Regions from separate parts of the Homo sapiens genome. Here region 2 is linked to region 1. The links are contacts of gene promoters, found by promoter capture Hi-C in human tissues and cell types (Jung and others, 2019). All regions are on one chromosome and are shown on one strand. Each heading gives the region's core, a stretch centred on a gene start or on the middle of the fragment in contact. The rest is flanking DNA. Distances are from core to core; before and after follow the strand shown. Region 1 holds the start of VWA3B (von Willebrand factor A domain containing 3B). Region 2 holds the start of LOC105373501 (a long non-coding RNA gene).

Region 1 (6,372 bases), core at 873-3,372:
AATAACAACGAAAGGCTTGTCAAAGGCTTGTACATGGTTGCCAAGAGTGTGGTACTGGCAAGCAATGCTTTGAGACTGTACAGGTAGAGAGAAGTTATTAGGGCCGCAGCATCCATGGGAGGGCTTTGGGGAGAGAGAGAAGAGCTAGAGCTGACCCTGAAGGGACGGTGATTCCCAAACTGTGGTAATCTGGGTGGCCTGAGTAAAGTCATCTGTGCTCAGAGGCAGGGACCAGGTGGGTCTCTCTGGGATGGGGGTTTGTGTTGGAGGCAATGAGCAAAAGTCTGAAAGTATAATTTGAGCCCTTAATGGTAAAGTCCAGAAGTTTGACATCAAAGATGGCAGTGATTTGATCAATGTCGCTTACTGAGGTTTAAGGAAAGATACAAATTATCTGTAAAAATGTAAACTCAAAACAAATTTGTCAAAAGTTCAGTATAGTAGTGTATCACCACTGTGCTAAAGGTTTTCTTATTTCAAATAACTCAATAAAAATGAGGCAAACCATTCTGTAACTAGCTAAACTGAAGTCCATACCAACTATTTAATGCTTCAAAATAACCTTAAACTTCTACTCACTTATCATTCTACAATTTAAGTAAGTAATGTTTCACATTTTCAACAGAATGTATGCTTATAGACACATAAACACGAAAGATAGGGACAGATCATCTTGGTGACTTGCACGTATGTGGCAAGTGTCCTAGGGAAAGGAGCAGGCATGGGGTGAAGGTGGGAACAAGAGTGCCTGGCGTGACCATGTGAGGCAGGGCATTTGGCTATGTGTTGCTGTGTGCTCTGTCTCACCCCCGTGACCCAAGAATATTAGTGTGGCAGGGTGTGGACAGCAAGGATTAATGGGTCATTGGCAAACATGGGCGAGGCTGGTGTTTTACTCCCTTCTGAACAGTCTTCAGTACTATCAAGCTTTTGCTTGTTTTTTGGTGGTGTGGATGGCAGGTTTCATTTGCAGGGCCAAATATATATAAACTAATAACTGCCAGGAATGATTTGTGATATGGAATGAAATCTTTCAGTACTTTTTAAATGATAGAGGCATTAAAAGAATGCAGGAGAAATAAATTCCTGTGGATGAAGCAGACTTTTTTTGGGGGGACAGAATTACTCAGTTCTAACATTAACTATGTTTTATTAGTTCTTTGAAAAACCTGCAAATGATCTGGTCAGTTCTATAATTTTAAAATCTAAAATCGTTTACTATCCCAATACCCTAAAAACAATACTTACTGTGGGGTCTTTTATTAAGACTTTAAAGATACTTTTCATAAGCACAATTTTATTTCCTGGTGACTGGAAAAATAGGAAAATATTTAGAGCCTTTTGCTTAATTGATAAGGTAACACTGAAACAAAGGTTAAAAACAAAGCTGAATGGAGAAAATAATGCCTATAGAAATATTCATGTCAAACAGGTAAGAATATTCTTGGCAACTGCAGCCCCTGCCTCCACAATTGCAAAATTGCAGCTCCCTGTCCCTTCTGTCTGTCTCAGCTCCGCCCACGTCCAGTGGCTGAGCTACAACGAACTGCCCCACCTCTTTTAAAGCGTCTTTCTCTGAACTGTGCAAGGAAGAGAGCATCGCCTGACAGTGGTGAGGTGAAAATTAAAACTACACAGGGGTCAATGCTCTGCTGAAAAGTATGAAAAGAAGTTCGTTTGTAGCGTTTCCCGCAGTCTCCTCGCCTCTCCTCGGCCTCTGGCGCCTTCCTCCCCTGTCTGCTCGCACCCTATATTTCTACCCCAGCTCATCAGTGTATTTGTTTGTTAATTCATTCATTCTTTCATTCATATTCTCCGCTGTTGTTAATTTTCCCATTGACAGTAGGCGCAAGGGGCAACGCCACTCGCCCTGTCCCTCTAGCGTGGCCTCTGTTTGGGGGTCTGGGGTGGAGGTCGTCCCGGCCCGGGTGGTTCCGGACGCCGGCTTTCCGCACCTGGCTCGGTGACGGCCTCGGCGCCCCGCCCTCTTGGCCACGGTCCGCAGCCATCGCCCCAGTGAGGGCGCGGTCTGTGGGCGGGGCCGGCTCCAGGAGCCGCGCTGTGATTGGCCGTGTCCAGGCAACCGCGGAGACGCCGTCGTCAACAGACCGCGCTCGGAACCAGAGGCGCGGGTCACAGAGACCTAGAACAGCTGGAATCCTTCGCCCCCGGCGCGCAGCCTTCGCCCGCCGGAATCGCTGCCTTATCCACCAGCGGGATGCTTACCTCGCCCGCCCTCTCGGGTCAGGCGGGCCCGGGAGGATGGGAGGGTGGCTGCTGAGCGGGAGCCGCCACGTCTTCCACCCGACATATTGCCTAGTAAGTGTGGGAGCGATGCCTGCCGCACGAGAGCCGCCGAGGTGCCGAGCCTTCCAACAAGCGGCCTAGGGAGGTCTTGGAAAAATGCCATTTCTGAGGTGGACTACACGCCCACTTTACAGATGCGGAAACAGTACCAGGAAAGCTCGGTGACTTGCCCTGGCCCACTTAATCGTCCGCTACCCAGGGCAAGCCGAGGGTCAAGGTACCGACCCCTCCTACTCTAGAGCTCTTTCCATCACACCTCACCCGAGCCCACGCCCAGCCGCTCTGGTGGAAAAGCGGTTTTCCTAGTTTCTGTCTATGCCATAGGCCAGCAGTTCAAGGTGATGAAGTCCACCTGGGCTTTGGAGGGAACATGGGAACCAGAAGAAACACATTTCCTGAACATAAGGATAAATATGTATAGTCTAAAAGCCAAAGCAACACTTACATGGTTTCACAATCATATCAGTTTCTTTCACCCTCCTTATATGGAAATAAGACTTAATAAGTAGATTTAGTTTCCATTTGGTAGAGCTTTTCCTTTCATTTTCTTGGAAGCTCTGTTTCTTCTCAGCAATGACCTTCCTCCTAAAGCACTCCAATTATTCTCAGATATTGCCTTCTTGACTATTTTCTCAACGGTGGGACAGTCCGTTTCAATATCCTTGTCTCTGTCCACATTATTTGAGCCAATGATCACAGCCAAGCCTTGTCCCTTAAGGGCAGAAAAAATGGGAGGAGGTTTAAGGGTTTCTGGGGAAGAGTTGCATCAGGATCCATCATGAAGCTTCGTCCCAGTTTCCTTTCTTCCTGGAAAAATCATCGTTCACAAATTCACCTAAATCACAAGATATATATCCACCTAGCCCAGACTTCTTTTTCAGAAACTAACAGGGGTATAGGAAGTTTGGGGTGTTGATAATAAAGTAGCTAGAAGCTTATTGAATGTCTAAACTGGATTAATGGACTCTCAACCCTGCACTGTCCCTGAACCTCCGAGCACATAGGACCTTTTCTCTGAGGGCATGCTGACTTCACAAGACTGTCGCCCAGGGCAGCCCAGGAGCATCTGCTTCCAGTAGACGGGGCCCTTGTACAGTTGCCAGCTTAACCTTTCTATTTTCCCCAAAGCTTTGCCTGCCCACATTTTCAGCTCAGACTTTCACTTCCTTGTTTTTCCTTTTACACTTCCTCCTTCTTCTAAGGAAATACTTTCCTATCCAAACTCTATGTATGGTTCTTGGGATGGCCTCTAAAACTTAGGGCAATGCTCAACTCCGGTATGTTGTTGTTTCCGACTTCTGGGTTACTTGGTTCCCCAATTTATAATAACCTCAGCTGAGGAAACTCTGAATAATAGTAAATAAATAAATAAATAGCATAGTTTTATCAGAAAATAATATATCCCCCTTTATTTTTTTTTGAGACAGGGTCTCGCTCTGTCCCCCAGGCTGGAGTGCAGTGGTGCAATCTTGGCTTACTGCAACCTCTGCCCCCTGGGTTCAAGCAATTCTCCTGCCTCAGCCTCCCTAGTAGCTGGGATTACACGTGTGTGTTACCATGCCCGGCTAATTTTTGTATTTTTAGTAGAGACGAGGTTTCACCATGTTGGCCAGGCTGGTCTCAAGCTCCTGACCTCAGGTGATCCGCCCGCCTTGGCCTCCCAAAGTGCCAAGAGAGCACTTTGGCACTTTAAGGGGGCATTACAGGAGTGAGCCACCGTGCCCGGCCAATATATCCCTTTTTTAAAAGAGCTGTTTCCTGATATTAGCCTTATTAACACTGTGGATATTTGCCTTCTTTGAACAAAATCAGGATTCTCTTAGTAGCTCTGAGTGATCAGTTTTATTCATCTCAACTCTCACACCAAGTGCCTGCTGCGTATGAGGCCCTGTGCTGAGAATCTTCCTGTAGTTTGTCTCCGTAGTCATTGAACTGTCTTTAAGTCTAGTGAGGACAAGCCTGAAGTGCCTAAGACCTTAGTGATAAAGTATCATAGCAAAAGTTAGGGTTTTCCCAGGGAGGGGCTGCGGAAGGTTGTGAAGGGGTTTCGGGGAGGCTTAATGGCAGAGGCAGCATTTGAAATGAGACTTGCAGGCTAAGAGTCTGCATAGGAGAGCCGTCTGAGACCAACCTGGAGGTGGGAAAGCAGGCGGGCTAGTGGGGGTGGGGTGGGGAGAAGGGGGCTACGTCCCGGCTCGCAGCAGGCTTCCTTGCTCTGATAGAACAGTTCCTATCCCACTTGAGTGGAACAATTCCTTCTGTTGGGAGATGGCTTTTCTCCCTTTCCCCCTTTCCTTCCTTTTTTTTTTTCCAGACAATACAAATATTCCATTTGTATTTCAGACAATACAAATATTCCATTTGTATTTCAGACAATACAAATATTCTCAGGCTACAAAACGCTGGAGGTAAGATCTGAATCAGACTGGACTGTACAGGTTCTCAGATCCAGTAGAGCCAATTACACTTTTTTTAAAAATTAATTTTTTAAAAGTCATATGAGTGCAAAAGGGACTGGGGCGTGCACCTTAGCTATACTGGAGAAGTTTTGATTGCCTTTTTTGGGGATCAAAAACATGTCCCTTTAGCTTAAAAACAACACCTGTGACTATTCTGAACCCCTCTTTAAGGTTCCCAAATCCACTTTACAAAATCTTATTAGGGCAGTTTATGTAAAAGTGCTCCCTTTTAAACCTAGTACTCCCTTCAGCAAGAATATTGTAGGAGGTGGGTGTGTTTCAGGGAAGAGAAAAATTAATTGGAAATGATGAAATAGTAAAGAAAAAAGTTTCTTCTGAGCTTCCCTTTCTTGTTTCTTGGAACAACTGACCAAATTTAAAAGACTTTCTTTCAGCTCCAGTCTTTGTGGATAGATCCTCAAAAACAAGTTGAGGCATATTAGTCTGCCCTTGTTTTCATGTTCTGTGATTCTAAACTTTCTAGCTCAGTATGATTGGAGACTTGGGGATAAAAAGTGCTTGGGATGAAAGTGGGTCTCATGAAACAAAATACAATGACTAAAGAACCATGACTTTTAGATCATTTATTTGCACATAGCTGTTTCCAACATATAAAGTGCTTATCCACGCATAACTTATACATCAGCACAGTTGTTCCTTGAATAGCCCTGGGAGTTAGGGTGTGCAGGTGGTATTACTATCCTAGAGAGGTGGAATCACCTTAAAGTGGCAGAATGGGCTTATACTGAGTTTTGATTCTAAACTTTTCCACTCCTACGTGATGCTCTCCAAGTAATATTGCAATATTCTCCTCAAATTGAGCCTTTGTAGAAAGAAAGCCAGATCTTCACCAATAATAATTTGTATACCTTTGCAACTCAACATATGTGGACAATACAAATTCACATAAACCTTGAAATGGAAATTATTATCTTTTTTTTTTTTTGAGACTGAGTCTCGCTAAAGACAAGTTCTTGCTCTGTTGCCCAGGCTGGAGTGCAGTGGTGCAATTAGAGCTCACTGCAACCTCGAACTCCTGGGCTCAAGCAATCCTCCTGCTGCAGCCTCTCGAGTAGCTGGGACTACAGGCATGCACCACCATGCCTGGCTAATTAAAAAAAAAAAATTAGTAGAGATGAGTCCTCCACTATGTTGGTCAGGGTAGTCTCGAACTCCTGGGCTCAAGCGATCTTCTCAACGTGCTGGGATTACAGGCATGAGCCACTGCACCCAGCCTCATTATCTTTAAAAGTTTGAGAGTGATAAGCCAAGAAGCTTATTGAGTCTGAGCTCTGAGAATAAAGATTAGCGTTCCGGATGAGGACCTAGGGCCCTACTAGAATGCAGTCCTACTGGAATGCAGATTGCCTTGTCCCATAAGACCTGGCTGGAGGAGGTTAATTGTAAAGATAGCAGAGTGGTTAAGAAATGGCTTTGACTCCTGCTTTTCTCACTGGCTGTGGCAGAACCTGTGAGCAAGTTCTTTAAATCCTCGAAGCTTGCGATTCCTCACATGTAAGTGGCGTGTTAATAATGAGTAACTGATATGGTATGAAGAAGCTGTGAGCTAGTGCGTATAAAAGGACCAACAAATGGAAGTTGTTGC
Region 2 (6,495 bases), core at 1,615-4,114, 36 kb before region 1:
CAGGCTGGTCTTCAACTCCCGACCTCAGGTGATCCACCCGCCTCGGCCTCCCAAAGTACTAGGATTACAGGTTCGAGCCACCACACCCGGCCTTGAACTTTTCATTGTCGGCTGCAATGAGTGGGCGTTTTCTCTGGCTTCCCTGAGCTCTTCACCTTCCCCACCCTACCACAGGTAATACTTTCCTTCTCTACTTTTCCTTTCCTATATTTTCTGTCACTCAGGGTGACCATCTTGCCCAGAGACCATATGTTGATACTCCAAGTCGGAGGTTGGATTAAAGATGATGGGACTCATCTGGGGGAAAATTTAAGCCTTGCCAGTTTGATATTGGGTGCTAAGCAGAGTGGCTAATGTCTGTGTTTTATCACATGTATTTTGCTCTGGCCAGAATGAAAAAAAAAAATTCCTTTATAATGTGGCTTGGCCCCAGGGTGATGGTGCCACAAGCTGGATCACTAGGACTGCTCAGAGAAAGAGAACCCAGAAGATTGGCATGCCGGCAAAAGGGTAAAAATTTCTTACCAGTCAGATTTCTGACTTCTCTCTGTGGGAACGATTGAAGGAATGGTAAAACAAATCTCTTCTGTTTGGATTAATGCAAAAAAGAATTCTAAGGCTAGTCTTAAACTGGTGTACTTTGTGCTATGAATTCGTTTTTCTTGTCGAGGGGAACTTCAGGATAAAACATGGGCTTAGAACACCTGTAAGCCCGCTTTTCAAGACAACTCAGCAAGCTGGTCCGTAACGAACTTGGCTGCAGGTCCCTGAAACAAACAAAAAACAACTGGATGAAGTTTCCACCTTATTTTATGTCCTTGGGAGCTTGACCTTTTAACCACATGGCGGTACTTTCTCTTGGTCTCTGCCTTCCAGGGAACAGAAATTTTAGGGTTCATGTCATAGTTAGTGCTAAAAATCATATTAAAAAGTTAAAAGCCTTTACAAGCTCAAAATTAACTACTCTAGACTCCGTCTGGGGAAGGAAACAGAGGCTGTCCCATGCTGCACCTCTGTTGCTAAGGTTTTGCGCTTTCACAGTAGCGGTCCAGGTTCAATTCCCCACCTAGGAAGTAAGTCGTTTCTGGTTTAATACCTGCATGACCTTGTCTATTCTCTTCTCCTCTGTGGACTGTCTTAAATTTTCCTTTCTCTAAGCACCTGGGAGGTTACCTTTGGTAAAGTTCAAAAGTCAGAAATATCGGCCGTTTGGCATAAGAAATTCTAAAAGGACTTTATTAAAGAGTGCTATGGTTAAAATCAGTACTATTAAAAGCGGATAGTTAAACTCTAACAGCCTAGACTCCTTGGGAAAAACAGGAGGAAACAGAGACCACTTTCCTGGCCCTGTTCTTCCGGGGGCTCCATCCTAAAGCCAGTAATCCAATGAAGAAACTTAAAAACTGGCAAATGAAAAATTTTACAACTACTGTAGTATAATCTTCTGTCTTTCTTGTAGCTACATATGTGTTGTGTGTAATGTTTATATATAAGAGCTCTAATTAATTGGCTGAAACAAAAATAAGCACTTACATCAAATATTTTAAAAGCAAAATAGAAACTGTAATGCCTTTTAGTTCATATAACTTTAGTAATCTTTGGGAAAAACAGCTTTTAAAATTATTGTTAAAATAAAAACATTTAGTCTAAATTATGCAGGTCAGATATTAAGTTTGCTAAAGGCTTTAAGGTCATAAACTGCTGCTTTAACTTTTCCAAAATTGTTCAATTTACCTACCTTAAAGCCATGAGGTTCTAGATAAGGCCTGGGGACATGTGGAATTAGCCATGCCCCTTTGCTATACAAAGAAGATTATTAAGAAAGGGATTTTATGTAAGAAAGGATCTTGTATGGGAAATTCTTGTCCTAAAGTAAAATGACTGGTTGTCTAACAGGAGGGATGTTTAGGGCAGGTCAGAAAGTCCAATAATATCTCAGATGGTCTGTGTAAGTCATGAAAGGATTTGTGAAAGGGAATTTATGCAAGAAATGTCATACAATTCAAAGGTTGTTAAGCCTTGTAAATGCTTCATAAAATGCCACTATGACTCTTGCTGTACAACTTGCCTGCTTTATAGCTAGGTAAGGCCTGGGGACATGTGGAGTTAGTCATGCAACCTAGCTATGCTGGAGAGTCAGCTCTTATCTACACTTCTGTCTGGTGTGTCCTAGGCTAGGCGCCACACCTTGTATATAATTAAAATCCCGAACTTACCAAGTTTTTCACCAAAAATAAAAGTTGCTAAAAGTTAACGTTATAATATGTAACTAAAACTACTAAAAAAAATTTTACATGCAAGGTGTGTAAAGAAAGTAAAATGTGTTTTTGGCGAAAGATTACAAGAAGGCATGGGAATGTGCATTTTTTTTGCCTAAGGGGTTAAAGAATTGTTTTAAGTTAGAATAAAGGTTTGAACAATTGTGGAGGGTTTGTAGAAAATTAATTGTAAAAGAGATTCTGTGTGTGGACATTGGCTAAATTAAAGGAGTATTATTCAGTTTTTCTATAAATTAAAAATTGGAATAAAAGCACAACAGATTTTTCTTAGAGCAAAAACCTGCTTATGATCTGCTATTTAACAAAAACTTGTAAAGGGTTATAAAAGGTTTATAAGAATCTTACCTTATGGTCAAACTGATTAAGATTGGATCGATATATTTATAAGGTTTTATTAAGAATTGGGTTTGACATTGATAATGCACTAATGCAACAGTGACATTTGGCTTATTTGGTACAAAAATCATACAGGGAGCATTGTCAAATATAAAATGGTGTTTGGTTTTCTTTGGGCCATATTTGTATAAATATGTTATTGGTATATATATTCCAAAATCATGGGAAACTCTTATAATTCTGATATGACTTAGTGTACATTATCAGTAATAATGATAATCGTTACATAAAATCATTGTATGCCATGGAGGTAACAAATTTCCTTGTCAATTGTTTCTTTGATCGTGGCTCCCCTAAAACATTTTGTCAGCCATAGACAATTGTTACCTGGTTTTTTTTCTTTTTGAGACAAAGTTTCTCTCTTGTTGCCCAGGCTGGAGCGCAATGGCGCAATCTCAGCTTACTGCAACCTCTGCTTCCTGGTTTCAAGTGATTCTCCTGCCTCAGCCTCCTGAGTAGCTGGGATTACAGGTGCCCACCACCATGCTCAGCTAGTTTTTGTATTTTTAGTAGAGATGAGGTTTCGCCATGGTGGTCAGGCTGGTCTTGAACTCCTGACCTCAGGTGATCCAACTGCCTCGGCCTCCCAAAGTGCTGGGATAACAGGTGTGAGCCACTGTGCCTGGCCCAATCGTTACCTCGTTTTAATCCTCTTTAAAAGGTGATTTATAATCAATTATAGAACTCTAATAGGTGTTCTTAAATGCAGGTTTTCTGATAACTTTGGAGATTGTGTCATCAGAATAAAGGAAAAAACTTTCAGAACTCTAATGGAGAACTGAAATATTCATAACTATCAAACAGAAGTTAACTATATGGACTAAACTGAAGAAGTCTAATCTTTTTAACTTTGCTTAAAACATTGCTGATCCTTTGTTTTGTTTTTCAGAGTCAAGGAAACTTTTCTTTTGAGCTATTTACAGCTTTTAACAGTTGAGTGTACTCCTATGAACAGAATTTGGAGCATATTTATTTTTATTTCTTTGTATTTAATTTCTCTAAAATTTGGAAACTGTTTGTAAGTATTCTTAACTTATGGCAATATAGTTATTTGCATAGGTGCAATAAAAATCCGTTTTCTTTTGTAACAGGACACAACGGGAGACATTGGTTATTTTGCTAAGGCTTTGACTGGAACAGCATGTTTTCCTTTAGGGTATTAAACCTAACATATAGAGCCAATAAAAGCCCCCTGGGGGACTGGCCTCATACCTTGCCTAAAACAGTCTCTGTGCAGAATTTCTAACCTGTGGTGAGTAAAGAATGTCACTTTCTGACAGGTCATGGAGCCCCAAGTTATCTTGTGACCTCGAGAGGAAAAAAATTTACCCAACTCAGGTATTTGAGGGTGCAAACCCATGGCTGGGCTCGGCTGTAAAATAGTCTTACCTGAGGCAGAGCAAAGTGGATCCCAGCAGTTTGGGAGGCCGAGGTGGGCACATCACTGGAAGTCAGGAATTTGAGACCAGCCTGGCCAATATGGTGAAACGCTGTCTCTACTAAAAGCATAGAAAAAAAATTAGCTGGGCATGGTGGCAGGGCCTGTAATCCCAGCAACCCGGGAGGCTGAAACAGGAGAATCACTTGAACCCAGGAGGTGGAGGTTCTGGTGAGCCGAGATAGCACCACTGCACTCCAGTCTGGGCGACAGAGCGAGACTCTGTCTCAATTTAAAAAAAAGAAGTCTTATCTGAAATTCCTTCTATGGAATAGAGTTCAAAGCCAATTTAAAATGAGCTTATGTGAAAAATAATTATTCTTGCTGTACAAATAATCAGGCCAAGTATAATAAAGCAAATCGGTCTTACCATGATTTGTCTTTAGTAAAAATAGGAAACTGGAGAGAGAAATATTACATTTCAAAAACTGGTATACTTTGTATTAGATTCTAGTCTTATCAGTTGTTTTTAAGTTTGTTTCTGCAATTTAGTCTAACACTGCATATTCCTGTGAACCAACCACTGATGTCTAACTGCTGCTCAGAAGAAACAAGAGAGATGGGTAATGCAAAAATCTGGATCAGTATTCTAATTCTGGGCACATTACAATCAGCTAACAACCCCATATCAGCTTAGTTCCAACAGTTGCCCAGTTCATGAAAAGCTTTCTAATTTAGTTTACTTGGAATAACTTTACTTATTTTCCTTTACTCTTGTGAAATATATTGCTGTTATACTCTTTGTGTAGGAATACAGGACAAGCTTACTAAATGTTTTCTTAAATTAAACACTTATTAATTTTCCAAATACTCTTTGTGTAGGAATACAGGACAAACTTACTGAATGCTTTCTTAAATTAAACATTTATTAATCTTCCAAATATCACCTTTTGTTGAAACTCAAAAGTTATAAATGGACCTTACCATACTAATGCTTTCTGACTGAGCTCCTCTCTACCCTGAATGCAAGAGGCCCTCATAGTTAGGCAGGAATATCATTGCCCCTATTCAGCATGAAGAAGTTACAGAAGACGGATCTTTATGCCTCTGCAAGCCTTAGGATTAAGGGTTTATAAAAAGGGTGGGGGGAAATGTCAGAGGTGTGTGAACCAGAGCAACTCCATCTGAAATAGGAGCTGGGTAAAATGAGGCTGAACCTACTGGGCTGCATTCCTAGAGAGTTAAGGCATTCTAAGTCACAGGATGAGACAGGAGGTCGTCACAAAATACAGGTCATAAAGACCTTGCTGATAAAACAGGATGCAGTAAAGGAGCCAGCCAAATCCCACCAAAACCAAAACGGCCACGAGAGTGACCTCTGGTTGTCCTCACTGCTACACTCCCACCAGCACCATGACAGTTTACAAACGCCATGGCAATGTCAGGAGGTTACCCTATATGTTCTAAAGAGGGGAGACATGAATAATCCACCCTTTGTTTAGCATATCATCAAGAAATAACCATAAAAATGGTCAACCAGCAGCCCTCAGGGTTGCTCTGTCTATGGAGTAGCCGTTCTTTTATTTCTTTCCTTTTATTACTTTCTTAATAAACTTGCTTTCACTTTGCACTGCGGACTTGTCCTGAATTCTTTCTTGTGTGAGATCCAAGAACCCTCTCTTGGGATCTGGATCAGGACCCCTTTCCTGTAACAAGGGGATAAGATTCAACCTATTAAGACTGGAGTGGTGACATTAATTTCAGACAGAGCTGACTTCAGAGCAAGGAAAATTATCAGGAATAAAGACAAACTTACATAATAACAAAATGGCCAACTCTCTAAGAAGAAAGAACAATCCTTAATGTGTTCACCGATTATGAAATTGATAAGTTAAATAATTCTATAAATGTCATGAAATTGGATTAATAATTTTAAAGCTCCGCCAAAGTGGCCAAACTGCCACAGATCCTGACAATTTCATCTGGATCCATTGTACCCTGCTGGGCCACCAGTGGACTGGGGGCTTCCTGTGTGGTGGTTGGCTTCTGTGTCATGACTGATTTCTACCTTCCCACACCTTATCATGAAAACACTACGTTCCTGTTGTTCTGACCATGAGGTCTCAGGGTTTGGGCTGCGCTGTGAAGGTCAACCTTACCTCATTGCTGATGGCTTTCTTGTACACAGTAGGCTGCTACTTCATGTTTCTAGAGAGAGTGGAATTTGAATCTGCTAAGAGGGCTATCCGCTCTCCTGGGACTATGCAAGCTTCATAATGCAGCCATGAGCTTGTCTCTGTGCCTTTGAGTTTCATGAGCTTTTTCTATAGCAGCATCCTGCAAAAAAGAAAAGAAACAGCCCATCTGGAGGTCAAGAGGTCAGTCTCTGGCTGTGTTTTTCTCATTGAAGTAATATACCTTTGGTCCTCGAATCTTTTCAAC

Evidence for each region. Contacts are between HindIII fragments. The study calls those that stand out against the background at their distance.
Region 2: a contact is called between a fragment that was not itself captured here and the fragment with the promoter of VWA3B in region 1, in 1 of the 25 tissues and cell types used here (pancreas).

The regions. Positions count from the first base shown.
Region 1 is chr2:98,085,045-98,091,416 of GRCh38, forward strand. VWA3B (von Willebrand factor A domain containing 3B) reads left to right here and starts at 2,123. Exons shown (of 28, transcript NM_144992.5): 1 at 2,123-2,319. RefSeq lists enhancers at 1,851-2,351, 2,248-2,317, 2,352-2,852. The HindIII fragment of the contact is 7,495 bases long and covers 1-4,738 here.
Region 2 is chr2:98,048,226-98,054,720 of GRCh38, forward strand. It overlaps LOC105373501 (a long non-coding RNA gene), which reads right to left and starts at 4,174. Exons shown (of 3, transcript XR_923092.3): 1 at 4,065-4,174; 2 at 526-767. RefSeq lists enhancers at 1-85, 5,930-6,495. The HindIII fragment of the contact is 3,926 bases long and covers 902-4,827 here.